3 separate regions of the Homo sapiens genome follow, and all the other regions are linked to region 3. The links are contacts of gene promoters, found by promoter capture Hi-C in blood cells and fetal thymus (Javierre and others, 2016). All regions are on one chromosome and are shown on one strand. The core of a region is centred on a gene start or on the middle of the fragment in contact, and the rest is flanking DNA. Distances in the headings are between cores, read along the strand shown. Region 1 overlaps PPIL6 (peptidylprolyl isomerase like 6). Region 2 has its middle 3.3 kb from the start of CD164. Region 3 holds the start of ARMC2 (armadillo repeat containing 2).

Region 1 (3,215 bases), core at 693-3,192, 560 kb after region 3:
CTAAGTGATTAAGCCATATCTGGGTAGTTACTTTCAGCCTGGTAAGTTGAAAACTGAATAAAGACCCCTGAAACCTTATGAAATGCTGATGAGGCATGTTTGTACAAATGAGTCTATATAATTACGCTGATGCTCCTTATTCATTTCAGTGAAATAAAGAAAAAAACTCATAATTTCACAGAAAATTGCATGAAATGGAAATCTGCCCACAGCAAAGACTCAGAGAGTTTTTCTTTTTTTTTTTTGTGAGATGGAGTCTCGCTCTGTTGCCCAGGCTGGAGTGCAGTGGCGCGGTCTTGGTTCACTGCAAGCTGCGCCTCGGGTTCATGCCATTCTCCTGCCTCAGCCTCCCTTAGTAGCTGGAACTACAAGCGCCCACCACCACGCCCGGCTAATTTTTTGTATTTTTAGTGGAAACAGGGTTTCACCGTGTTTGCTAGGATGGTCTCTATCTCGTGACCTCGTGATCTACCCGCCTCGGCCTCCCAAAGTGCTGGGATTACAGGCGTGAGCCACCGCGCCCGGCCCAGATTCAGAGAGTTTTAACAGAATGGTATTTGTCATTGCTTTTACATATTCTGATTTATTTTTCTTAAATTCTTTAAAAATTGGGAAAGAAAATTGATGAGTTGTAACATTTTTATAAAAAATTCTGTGATTGTGGGATAATTTTAAAGCAGTTAATCATAATACCTATCAAAGAAACTGCTACCTATGTGAAAACCCATGTATAAAACAGTGCAAAAAGTGCCTAGAGCAGCCAGGCACAGTGCCTCATGCCTGTAATCCCAGCACTTTGGGAGGCCAAGGTGGGTGGGTCGCTTGAGGCCAGGAGTTCGAGACCAGTCTGGCCAACATGGCAAAACCCCGTCTCCACTAAAAACACAAAAATTAGCTGGGTGTGGTGGTGCATGCCTGTAATCCCAGCCACTTAGGAGGCTTAGGCACAAGAATCGCTTGAACCCAGGAGGCGGAGGTTGCAGTGAACTGAGATTGCGCCAATGCACTCCAGCCTGGATGACAGAGAAAGACTCGGTCTCAAGAAAAAAAAAAAGTGCCTAGAGCCCTCTCATCTCCTGAACACATTTATTTAGGACAGCATGGAAATCCTTAGAGACAATTTGAGAACCATTGCTATAAAGGGACAGAATAAATTATATTTTTAAAAGGTGCAGGTAGTCCCTGACTTAGAAACTTAAAAATGTATGGACCTGAAAAAAAGTGTGAAAACTAAACGACTGTGTGTGGATTCTCTAAGTCCAGAATGTGTATGTGAATCTTAAGAACCCGAGGCTATGCTGCTTCCAGCCAGGCAGTAATGCCAGGGCCTACGGAAATCGCTCAGTGGTCATGCCGTAACTGGCCTACTTGGCATGATCTTGTATGCATCAAATAAAATGATGTGTAAGAAAGAACCGTTTTAAATATTAACTCTAACTAGCTTTGCAGACATAAAGTATTACAAGACAAGGGTAATTTACGTGTTATTTTGTTCTGCCGTGTCTCTCTGACTCACTCTTTAATCGTCTGCTCACCTCGGTATTTCTCGATCTTTCCAACCCCTCTGCTTTCCTTCTGCCTCTTTACACTTCTTTTCAAGCTTCCATAAAGCTCTAAAATTAAAGAGCTATAATTTAAATTTAAATTAAATTAAATTTTTTTAGAGAAGGCATCTTGCTAGTTGTTCAGACTAGTCTTGAACTCCTGGGCTCAAGGCCTCCTGCCTCAACCTCCTGAGTAGCTGGGACTACAGGTGTGTGCTACCACACCTGGCTAGCTCTAATTTTTTTTAAAAAAATTATTTACCAACATAAATTTCCCTGATTTTTTTTCTAATAGTAAATTTTTGGTACATTTCATTTAACACTTAAAACATTAAGTTGCTTTATACTTCCATGATATCAAAATGCACCCTTTGGCAGTAAACAGCACTGCTGAAGGGGGCTGAGCCTCTTTAGGTTTAAACAGAGTGAAAGCCCCCATAGAGGAATTTCTGTCCTCTTTGTTTGGTGAGGAGTGAGGCCACTGGTCAGTAAATAGGTTTGATTCAAGCCTATTTTCTCCTGAGTGCTTCTGCCAGGGATAAAGTATGTGTGGGAACAACCTACACAGAAACCAATAGCTGAAACTTGCCTAAGTAGAAAGAGCCTATTTATTTAGGACTTTAAAAGTTGTGATTCAAAACAAAGCAAAACAGACTTTCCCTAGGTTAAAAAAAAATTAATTCGTTTATAAAATGATAATCTAATTAAATGATACATTACTTATTGCATTATTTTTGTGTTAAGCTTAACAAAAGTGAGTTTTGTGGTTGCAGTTTTTCACAGCCCCAGTTTTAATTCTGCATCTCATGGAAGTAGGAACCCATGAGAGAAATGTGGAGGAAGGACTGGCTGGCTGCTGCATTCACATTCCCAGGCAGGTGAAGGGATGAGGGAGAAAGACCCATGCCTTAGCTGTTCTGAGGACTAGCTGTGCTCTCGCTTTCACAGTTACTCATCTTTCCTTCTGGAACATCTCTTCTTCCCACTTGATTGCTTCCTGGATTTTTTCTAATTTTGTCCTACCAGACCAACCGAATAATAAAAACTTCACTGAATGCACTGGGACTCCATGGGCACAGTGAGGACAGCAAAGATTCTATCTGGAGAGCAGATACTACAACAGTCTAAGGATGGGGTGAGGGATAATCAGCAGAGACTCAGGGGTGTCTAGGAGGTCAGGCAAGGAGATGAGTGAACAGATCAGTCTCCTACTGGACAGGAGGCCCACGTTCCATCTGAGGCTGTGCCTCCGAGCACAAAGCATTTGGGTGCTCTGATAATGGCTGTGGGGTGGAGAGGTACAGTGGATTCTCATCAGGGATTGGGGCCAGGAGAGTCCTTTCTCCATCTGCAACGTGTTGCTGCAGACCCAACTCAAAGCTTCTCTGTGCTGCCGCACCCAACTCTCCAGGCAGCTATTCTTTCTTTTCCCACAGCACTCAGTTCCCTCCTCTCTAACAGCAACTGGCACAGCACCTGTAGTTGATCTGTTTTAACATCTGTCTGCACAAAACTACTACAAGCCTTCCGAGTAGAAACTCGGTTATACCATCTTTGTTGCCACAGGCCCTAGCACCATGTGAGCACCTACTTTGGAGTTTAGTATTTTATGAATGACTAAAGGAATGGTGTCACTTGCATGTTTTCATTTGATAGAGCTGTCTGCAGGAA
Region 2 (3,581 bases), core at 336-2,835, 540 kb after region 3:
CAGCACTTTGGGAGGCCAAGGCGGGTGGATCACCTGAGGTCCGGAGTTTGAGACCAGCTTGGCCAACATGGTGTAAACCCCGTCTCTCCTAAAAATACAAAAATTAGCCGGGCATGGTGGCACGTGCCTGTAATCCCAGCTACTAGCAGGGCTGAGGCAGGAGGATCGCTTGTATCCGGGAGGCGGAGGTTGCAGTGAGCCGAGATCACACCACTGCACTCCAGCTTGGGGAACAGAGCCAGACTCGTCTCAAAAAAAAAAAAAAAAAAAAAAATGTAAATAGAAGCTCTGTTCTCAGAGCTTGGTGTGTTATCTTCTTTCCACCCTAGGATAAACACACTCCTCTGTGCAGACCATTGTTTAACAATTTGTCACCTGGATGTTTAACTCTAGTCCTCAGATATTCCTCAGTCCTGATAAAGGGACATTTCACGCTCTTGTTTTAAGACTAGAAAACCATTGGTTTATTTTATTTTGCATGGCAACTGTAGAGGTAGATCAAGGGAGTTCCAAAGTCATTTTCACCATTTCAGAGAGACAGCTTTTTTTTTTTCAGTTCCTGACAGTAAGCTTCTGTTTATTGTTGTCATAGAGCAGGGTTTCTCAATCTTGGCGCTATCAAGATTTCAGGCTGACTCATTCTTGCTTGTCCTGTGCATTGTTGGATATTCGGCAGTATTCGTAGCCTCTACACACTAGATACCAGAAGCACCCCACCTCTCAGTTGTGACAACCAAAAATATCTCCCGATATTGTTAAATGTCTCCTGGGGGTAAAATCACAATTGAAAGGCACCCTCAGAGCGTTCTTCTGTGTGCAAGGTCAGCCATCACTCAGGTTATTTCCTCTTAGACACATTGCTTGCAATTAGATTGTCGATTGGTTGTTAGAGCGACCTTCTTAACCATTTATTTTCTTGAAAGCAGCAAGACAGAGTGCTTCTGCGCTTGTGAATCTTCTAGCAGTATAAGCTCCCTCTAAGTTTTTTAAACAGCAGATTTTTAAACAATGCTTCAGCCTTGTGTCAGTACCTTTCCCCAAATAAACAGATCAACACTCCAAACAGGACCCTGCCTTCTAGCTATAACTAACATCCAGTGGCCCCTTAATAATCAGAGGTTTGCCTCCACTACTTGATAGCAAGAAGTACAAACCCCCTTGTACTAGCTTATGTTAAAGGGAATCCATTCACTGTAAGAATATGACAGTAAATCTTATAGGCATTCAGGGGTGGGAAATCAAGTGTGTGAGGGCCAAGGGAGACTTGAACTTAAAAGGAGGAATCCCTAGCACGTGGAGCTGGTTTGCTAGGACTTCGTTTCAGGCTTCAACCCTACAGGACATTGCCAGATCTATAGACCCACAGCCAATCATCTCCATTGCCCAGTATTCCAGTTATATAGCTCTTGGAAGAGATAACTTGACTGAGTACCATGCCTTCCCAACCTGTCTGTTACCTACTCTCTGCTCTGACTCCATCCATGCAGTCTACACTAGAGCTCCCTGAACTTCCAGTTCTCCTAACTGGTCATGTTTTCTTTTGCATGTGGATCTTCATCCATGCTATTTCTTCTGCCTAGAACATTCTTATTCCCTTCTGGCATCTGACCAACTCCTACTTGTTTGAGGTCTCTCAGCTAAGCTGTCACTCCCATCTTAAGCTATCCTTAAAATATTCAACTACCCCTTTCTCCCCACTCCCAGACTACAAAAGGTGTTCCTGCTCTGTGCACCCTGGACTTGCCCATAACAAAGCATATACTGCATTATATAGCAGTTGTCTTTCTCACTAGATTAACTCAGAAATAGTGCTCACCAGTTTATTCCCTGCACTTAATTAAAAAAAAATGAATAAATGAACAAACTGGCTTATTTCAGTCAGTTGTCCACCCTTGCCAAAAATTAGCTGCATTAAAAAGCACAGGAGGAGCCCGGCGTAGTGGCAAGCACCTGTAATCACAGCTACTTGGGAGGTTGAGGCAGAAGAATCTATTGAACCCAGGAGGCAGAGGTTGCAGTGAGCCGAGATTGCATCACTGCCCTCCAGCCTGGGCAACAGAGTGAGACTCTGCCTCAAAAAAAAAAAAAATAAATAAATAAAATAAATAAAATAAAAGCGTAGGAGGGCAGCTGCTACAAATAACTCCCTGAACTCTTCAGCTGTGGGTCAGGGTAGATTCATCTAGAGGAGTATGGGTGGGAAACAAGGGCTGGCATCTGTAAGACAGTTTTAACAGCATATATTAAAGCTCATTTAGTAGTATTTGAATCTGTTTTGACAAAGAGAAGGATTGGAATAAATCAAATATTAGCTAAAACTGTATATTCAGAGTCTTAATATTGTGATTAAGATTAAGGGTAAAATTCTGGAGATATTGTCATTAGGAGGCTCTCCACTTTGACTGTGGATGTTTCTTTGAAAAGTGTGCCAGGGCGCCAGAGGGGAGCATTACACTTTAGAGCAGTTGTTCTTAACCCTGGCTGCACATTGGAACTACCTAGTGACATCAGTGGTGGTGGTGTGTGTTGAAAAATATTGATACTAGTGCCTGGGTACTGATTTAATTGGTCTGGAGTAATGTCTGAGCATCAGCAGTTTTAAAAGCTTCCCAGGTGTTTCTAATCTGCAGCTTAGGTGGAAAACCAGTGCTTTACTCTTGCTTTCCAGAGTGTGGTTCTCAAACCATTATCATTTATATCACCTAGAAATGCAGAACCTCAGGCCTCCCCCTCAGATCTCCTGAATCAGAACCTACATTTTAACAAGATTCCCAGAAGATATGTACATGTGTAAAGTATTAAAGTTGGAGAACAGCCGGATGCAGTGGCTCACGCCTGTAATTCCAGCACTTTGGGAGGCTGAGGCGGCAGATCACCTGAGGTCAGGAGTTCGAGACCAGCCTGGCCAACATGGCGAAACCCCATCTCTGCCAAAAATACAAAAATTAGCCAGGTGTGGTGGCGGGTGCCTGTAATCCCAGCTACTTGGGAGGCTGAGGCAGGAGAATTGCTTGAACCCAGGAGGTGGGGGTTGCAGTGAGCCAAGATCGTGCCATTGCACTCCAGCCTGGGCGACAGAGTGAGACTCCATCTCATAAAAAAAAAAAAAAAAAAAAAAAAAAAAAAAAGTTGGAGAACACTGCTTTACACTATGACTTGCACAGAACTATTCTATCCTGAACTGCTGCAATTTTTTTTCTTTTTTGAGAAAAAAATGAATAAATAAACTGGCTTATTTCAGTCAAACTGGCGCAATCTCGGCTCACTGCAACCTCCGCCTCCCCAGGCTCAAGTGATCCTCCCACCTCAGTTTCCTGAATAGCCGGGTGCGCCACCACACCTGGCTAATTTTTTGTATTTTTGCTTGAGACGGAGTTTCACCATGTTGCTCAGGCTGGTCTAGAACTCCTGAGCTCAAGCAATCTTCCCCCCTTGGCCTCCCAAAGTGCTGGGATTACAAGCATGAGCCACCATGCCAGGCCTGCAATTCTTAACAGTGATTCATTTACAAAATTACATCAAGATATACTGTTTTTGCTTCTTTCTTTACAAACATATGTAAGGTTAGCATACAAACAGCA
Region 3 (3,634 bases), core at 592-3,091:
CTCAGCCTCTCACCCAGGCTGAGGCTAAAAATAAGGGGTCAGAGAGTGGAAAGGGAAGATGTGTGGGGAAACTTCTTTGGAGAAAGGAGTGTGGGGTGCTATGCCCTTCATCTCAAGCCAGCGAGAGGGGCTTCCCCAGGGGCCTGGGACTGCCAGAGACTGTAGTTAGGTGGCCTGGAGAACTGGAGCCTGACTCACTCCTGGGTAAGCTAAAGCTCCCTCCTATGGCAGCCTAGAAGGGGCTGCACCCAGACAAGCCTGAGCTCTCAGAATCACTAGGGTAACAGATGTGTAGGGTTTCCCTTGGGACCTATCTAAAGGGGCACTGAAAGGTGGAATAAACCCTGGGTTTTTAGGATTTCCAGAAGCCCCCAGGAGGGAGGTCCCCATCAGTGGGAGACTACAAAGGACCAGGAAAGACCTACATGAGCTGCTTTAACCATAAGCCAGCACAGCAAGCTTGAAGCTGCTCAACTCCAGGAAGAAATGCTCCATCTCCTTCCTTCTCCTCCTCCTCCTCACTGCCAGTTTGATCCAAGCTGGGCCTTAAACAACCTCTAGTGAATAGAGGGGCGGGTGGGGGTCGGGGACAAGCCTAAGCCTAGTGCACCCCTTCAGGGAAGGCCAGCTAGAGACCTTAAGCCTGGGGCTGGAATGGGGGAGGAAGACTTTTTGAAGTTTGATGCATTTGTTTATATCTTGCACCCAACATTATAGTTTTGAAATGAAGCTGTGGTTGAGATTTAGTTACAACAAGACTGTCAGTTATCTAAGAATGAGCAGAAAAATCCAGGGCTGTTTCGGGTCCTAAAATTATCCAATCAACGAATAGGTATTTATTTTCTGTTATGTTTGAAATCCTCTTGAGTATTTTGAAGAATATTTACATTCCTTTAGTTCAGGTTAGTATAATTTCCCACCTGGCACGATGCCTTACACATAGTATGTGCTCAAAAATATTTTCAATTTAATTATTCTTTACAAGATGCTTAGCACCAAGGGAAGTGGCATTTTCCCAGTGTTGATGACAAATAGCACTTCAGCTGGAAAATCTCCATATTTATAAAACGTGGTGCAAACCTGAATGGAGAGTGCTTATGATCTCACTTTTATTTAACACTGTACAGTGTTGCTAAATGGTCTAACAGGAGAAAAGGGAATTTAAACTAGAAACACATAAATGGAGTGCTTTTTGCCGTTCAACTGTGATGATGCACGAACAAAAAACGATTGGCCACGGGAGACCTAGACTGGAATCTCCTTCTCCTGCTCACTACACCTCAGGCCCCCAGTTCCTCTCCTGTGGATGGGGACGCCAGGCTGCCTACCTCAGACTCAGAAGGTACGATTACGTGCATACACTCTGCGAACTGAAGGGCTGTACAAATGCAAGGGCTTAATAACAGCCAACAGTTTAATATTCGTTGATTGCCACGTGCATAGCGCTTTACATCTATTTTCTCATGCAGTCTTCATAACAGCCCAAGACCTACCTAGGTACTATTATTAATATTTCCTGCCACTTGACATCGGAGGAAACAGAAGCTCAGCAAGTGGCTCCAGGTTATACAGAGCCCTAACCTGAGCCAGTAAATCCTTCTTACCCACAAGCATTAAGCTTCCGTCCTGCCTGCTGTTATTTAACAGAGGTGCTGGGATCCGGCAGGGGAGCAACAAATGTGGTTCGGCAAATTGCTAAACGAAAAGCGGACACCCGCCCACGACGCCTGCTCTGATCTGACCTCCCGGCCTACAGCCCTCTCCAGGCTCCTCCCACCCGCTCCGGCCGTCGCCACGCCTCGGAGCTTCTACGCATGCGTTGGCGGGACCCGCGCAGGCCCAGTGGCCGAGCGGCGTCGTGGGGTTACCCCGCCCGCGCCAGCGCTGCATCCCTGGCCGCTACCCGGGGAGAGCCGGAGGATGAATTGAACCTCGCAGCCGCTGCTATCTCCAGTGCTCATCACAGGTGCTTTGGGTCAGGTCGGAAGCCTCCTTCCCTGAGCCCTCGCCAAGCTCATTCCCCGGCCCGCCTCTCCCGCCCTGCAGCGGCCTGGCCCTGCGGTCTGGCTGCCGGGGCGGCGGCGGGAGGTAGTTTGTGTACGGTTACCATGGAGACGCTGGCTGCGGGGCGAAGTGGGAGGGTGGCCGGGCGGGGTGAGGATGCTGCTGCGCCCTGCCCTGGCCGGGACCGTGGAGGAGCGGGCACTGCCGTGGGTGGGGGAGCCGCTGTCCGAGCGGGAGGTGAGGTGTCCCCAGCGGCTCCCCAGGGACCCTTCCTGCCGTCGTCCGCCTGTGTGTCCTCGGATGGGGTAGAGAGACGATGAGTGCCCTGTGCATGCTGTCAGGGGTCCGGAGCGGTTGTCTTTTATTTATGTACTGTCGCACTTAGCCAAGTGCGTGGTGCTTAATAAGAAGCCCAGTAATATTTGTTGAATGAGAGTGGTAGACTAAGGGGCTTTGTCTAGGCAGGCGGTGACCGGGCCAGAGTCATACAGTTTATATCTGGGCACTTCCAGGCAACAGGGCCTCAATAAATAAAAACGTATGTGTAACAATATTTAACATACTTTAAAATCATGGAGTGTATACATAATGCCTTTTGTGATCCATTCCCACAAGTAACACAACAGATCTTACGTCCCACCCTGATTTATAATAATTATACTTTAATTTGGTTGAAAAGCAAGCACCATTTATTATATTTATCCTGGTTTCTTAATCTATGGGATTCTGGTTGTTGATGTTGATTTGGCATAGCTGATATTCAATAAAATGCTTAATAAAAATTATCTGTTTTCATAAAGGCAAGTACCACCACCCACCTTTTAAAAGGAGAAGTACGTAATGTAAATGACGAGTTGATGGGTGCAGCAAACCAACATGGCACATGTATACCTATGTATCAAACCTGTACATTGTGCACATGTACCCTAGAACTTAAAGTATAATAATAAAAAAAAACTTATGTATAGAAACACTGAACAAACGTCATTCTCTCTTTTGCAATTTCTTTTTTTAAATGTAGTTTTTCATTCGTGGAAATGATTTTGCTGTATCCTTTTATCATGTAGCACTTGGGCAATAATTGTTAACATCTTTAAGGGCCATATTTTAAAATGTTAACATTTTTAAAGCACTGTGCTAACGCACTTTACATGTATTATATCATTTAATTCTTCAAACAATCCTATGGGGCAATTATTATTACTATCCACCTTTTATAGATGAGGAAACTGATGCTTAGAGATATTAGAGGCATTGCCTAAGGTCACATGGCTGTGAATTGTCAGCATTTAAACCCTTAGTCCAGCATCTAAGCACTTAACCACTGCCTCTTTGGATGCTCATATTAATACAAAAATGATTCAGAGTTATGGAAGGGTCCTGAGTATTTGATTTGCAGGGAAGACTGTGAAGCTGGCCTGCTTTTCCCCTGTTGCAGACATCCTGGTAGTGCAGTGTTGCATTTAGCAAGAAGGCTCTGGTTCCAGTGGCTATTAGCAGCAACGATAAAGACAGGTCTTTATAATTAGTTATAAACTTCTATAAATTATGACTCTGAGCTTTCACCCAGACCAGTAGGAAATATCTTGTTGAAAAAAAAGTTCTTCACTTTCAAATTTCCTACTGCTGG

Evidence for each region. The method cuts DNA at HindIII sites, captures the fragments that hold promoters and counts their contacts. A CHiCAGO score of 5 or more calls a contact.
Region 1: a contact is called between a fragment that was not itself captured here and the fragment with the promoter of ARMC2 in region 3, in 3 of 17 cell types (M1 macrophages, M2 macrophages and M0 macrophages). The highest score is 7.1, in M1 macrophages.
Region 2: a contact is called between a fragment that was not itself captured here and the fragment with the promoter of ARMC2 in region 3, in 3 of 17 cell types (M1 macrophages, M0 macrophages and M2 macrophages). The highest score is 7.5, in M1 macrophages.

Annotation. Positions count from the first base shown.
Region 1 is chr6:109,401,496-109,404,710 of GRCh38, forward strand. All of the region lies in intron 6 of PPIL6 (peptidylprolyl isomerase like 6), which reads right to left. Among named protein-coding and RNA genes, the nearest start is that of CD164, 21 kb to the left of the region's middle. The HindIII fragment of the contact is 688 bases long and covers 1,599-2,286 here.
Region 2 is chr6:109,384,004-109,387,584 of GRCh38, forward strand. No RefSeq gene overlaps it. Among named protein-coding and RNA genes, the nearest start is that of CD164, 3.3 kb to the left of the region's middle. The HindIII fragment of the contact is 2,035 bases long and covers 569-2,603 here.
Region 3 is chr6:108,846,581-108,850,214 of GRCh38, forward strand. It overlaps ARMC2 (armadillo repeat containing 2), which reads left to right and starts at 1,842. Exons shown (of 18, transcript NM_032131.6): 1 at 1,842-1,966. RefSeq lists a silencer at 2,100-2,199. The HindIII fragment of the contact is 2,745 bases long and covers 1,617-3,634 here.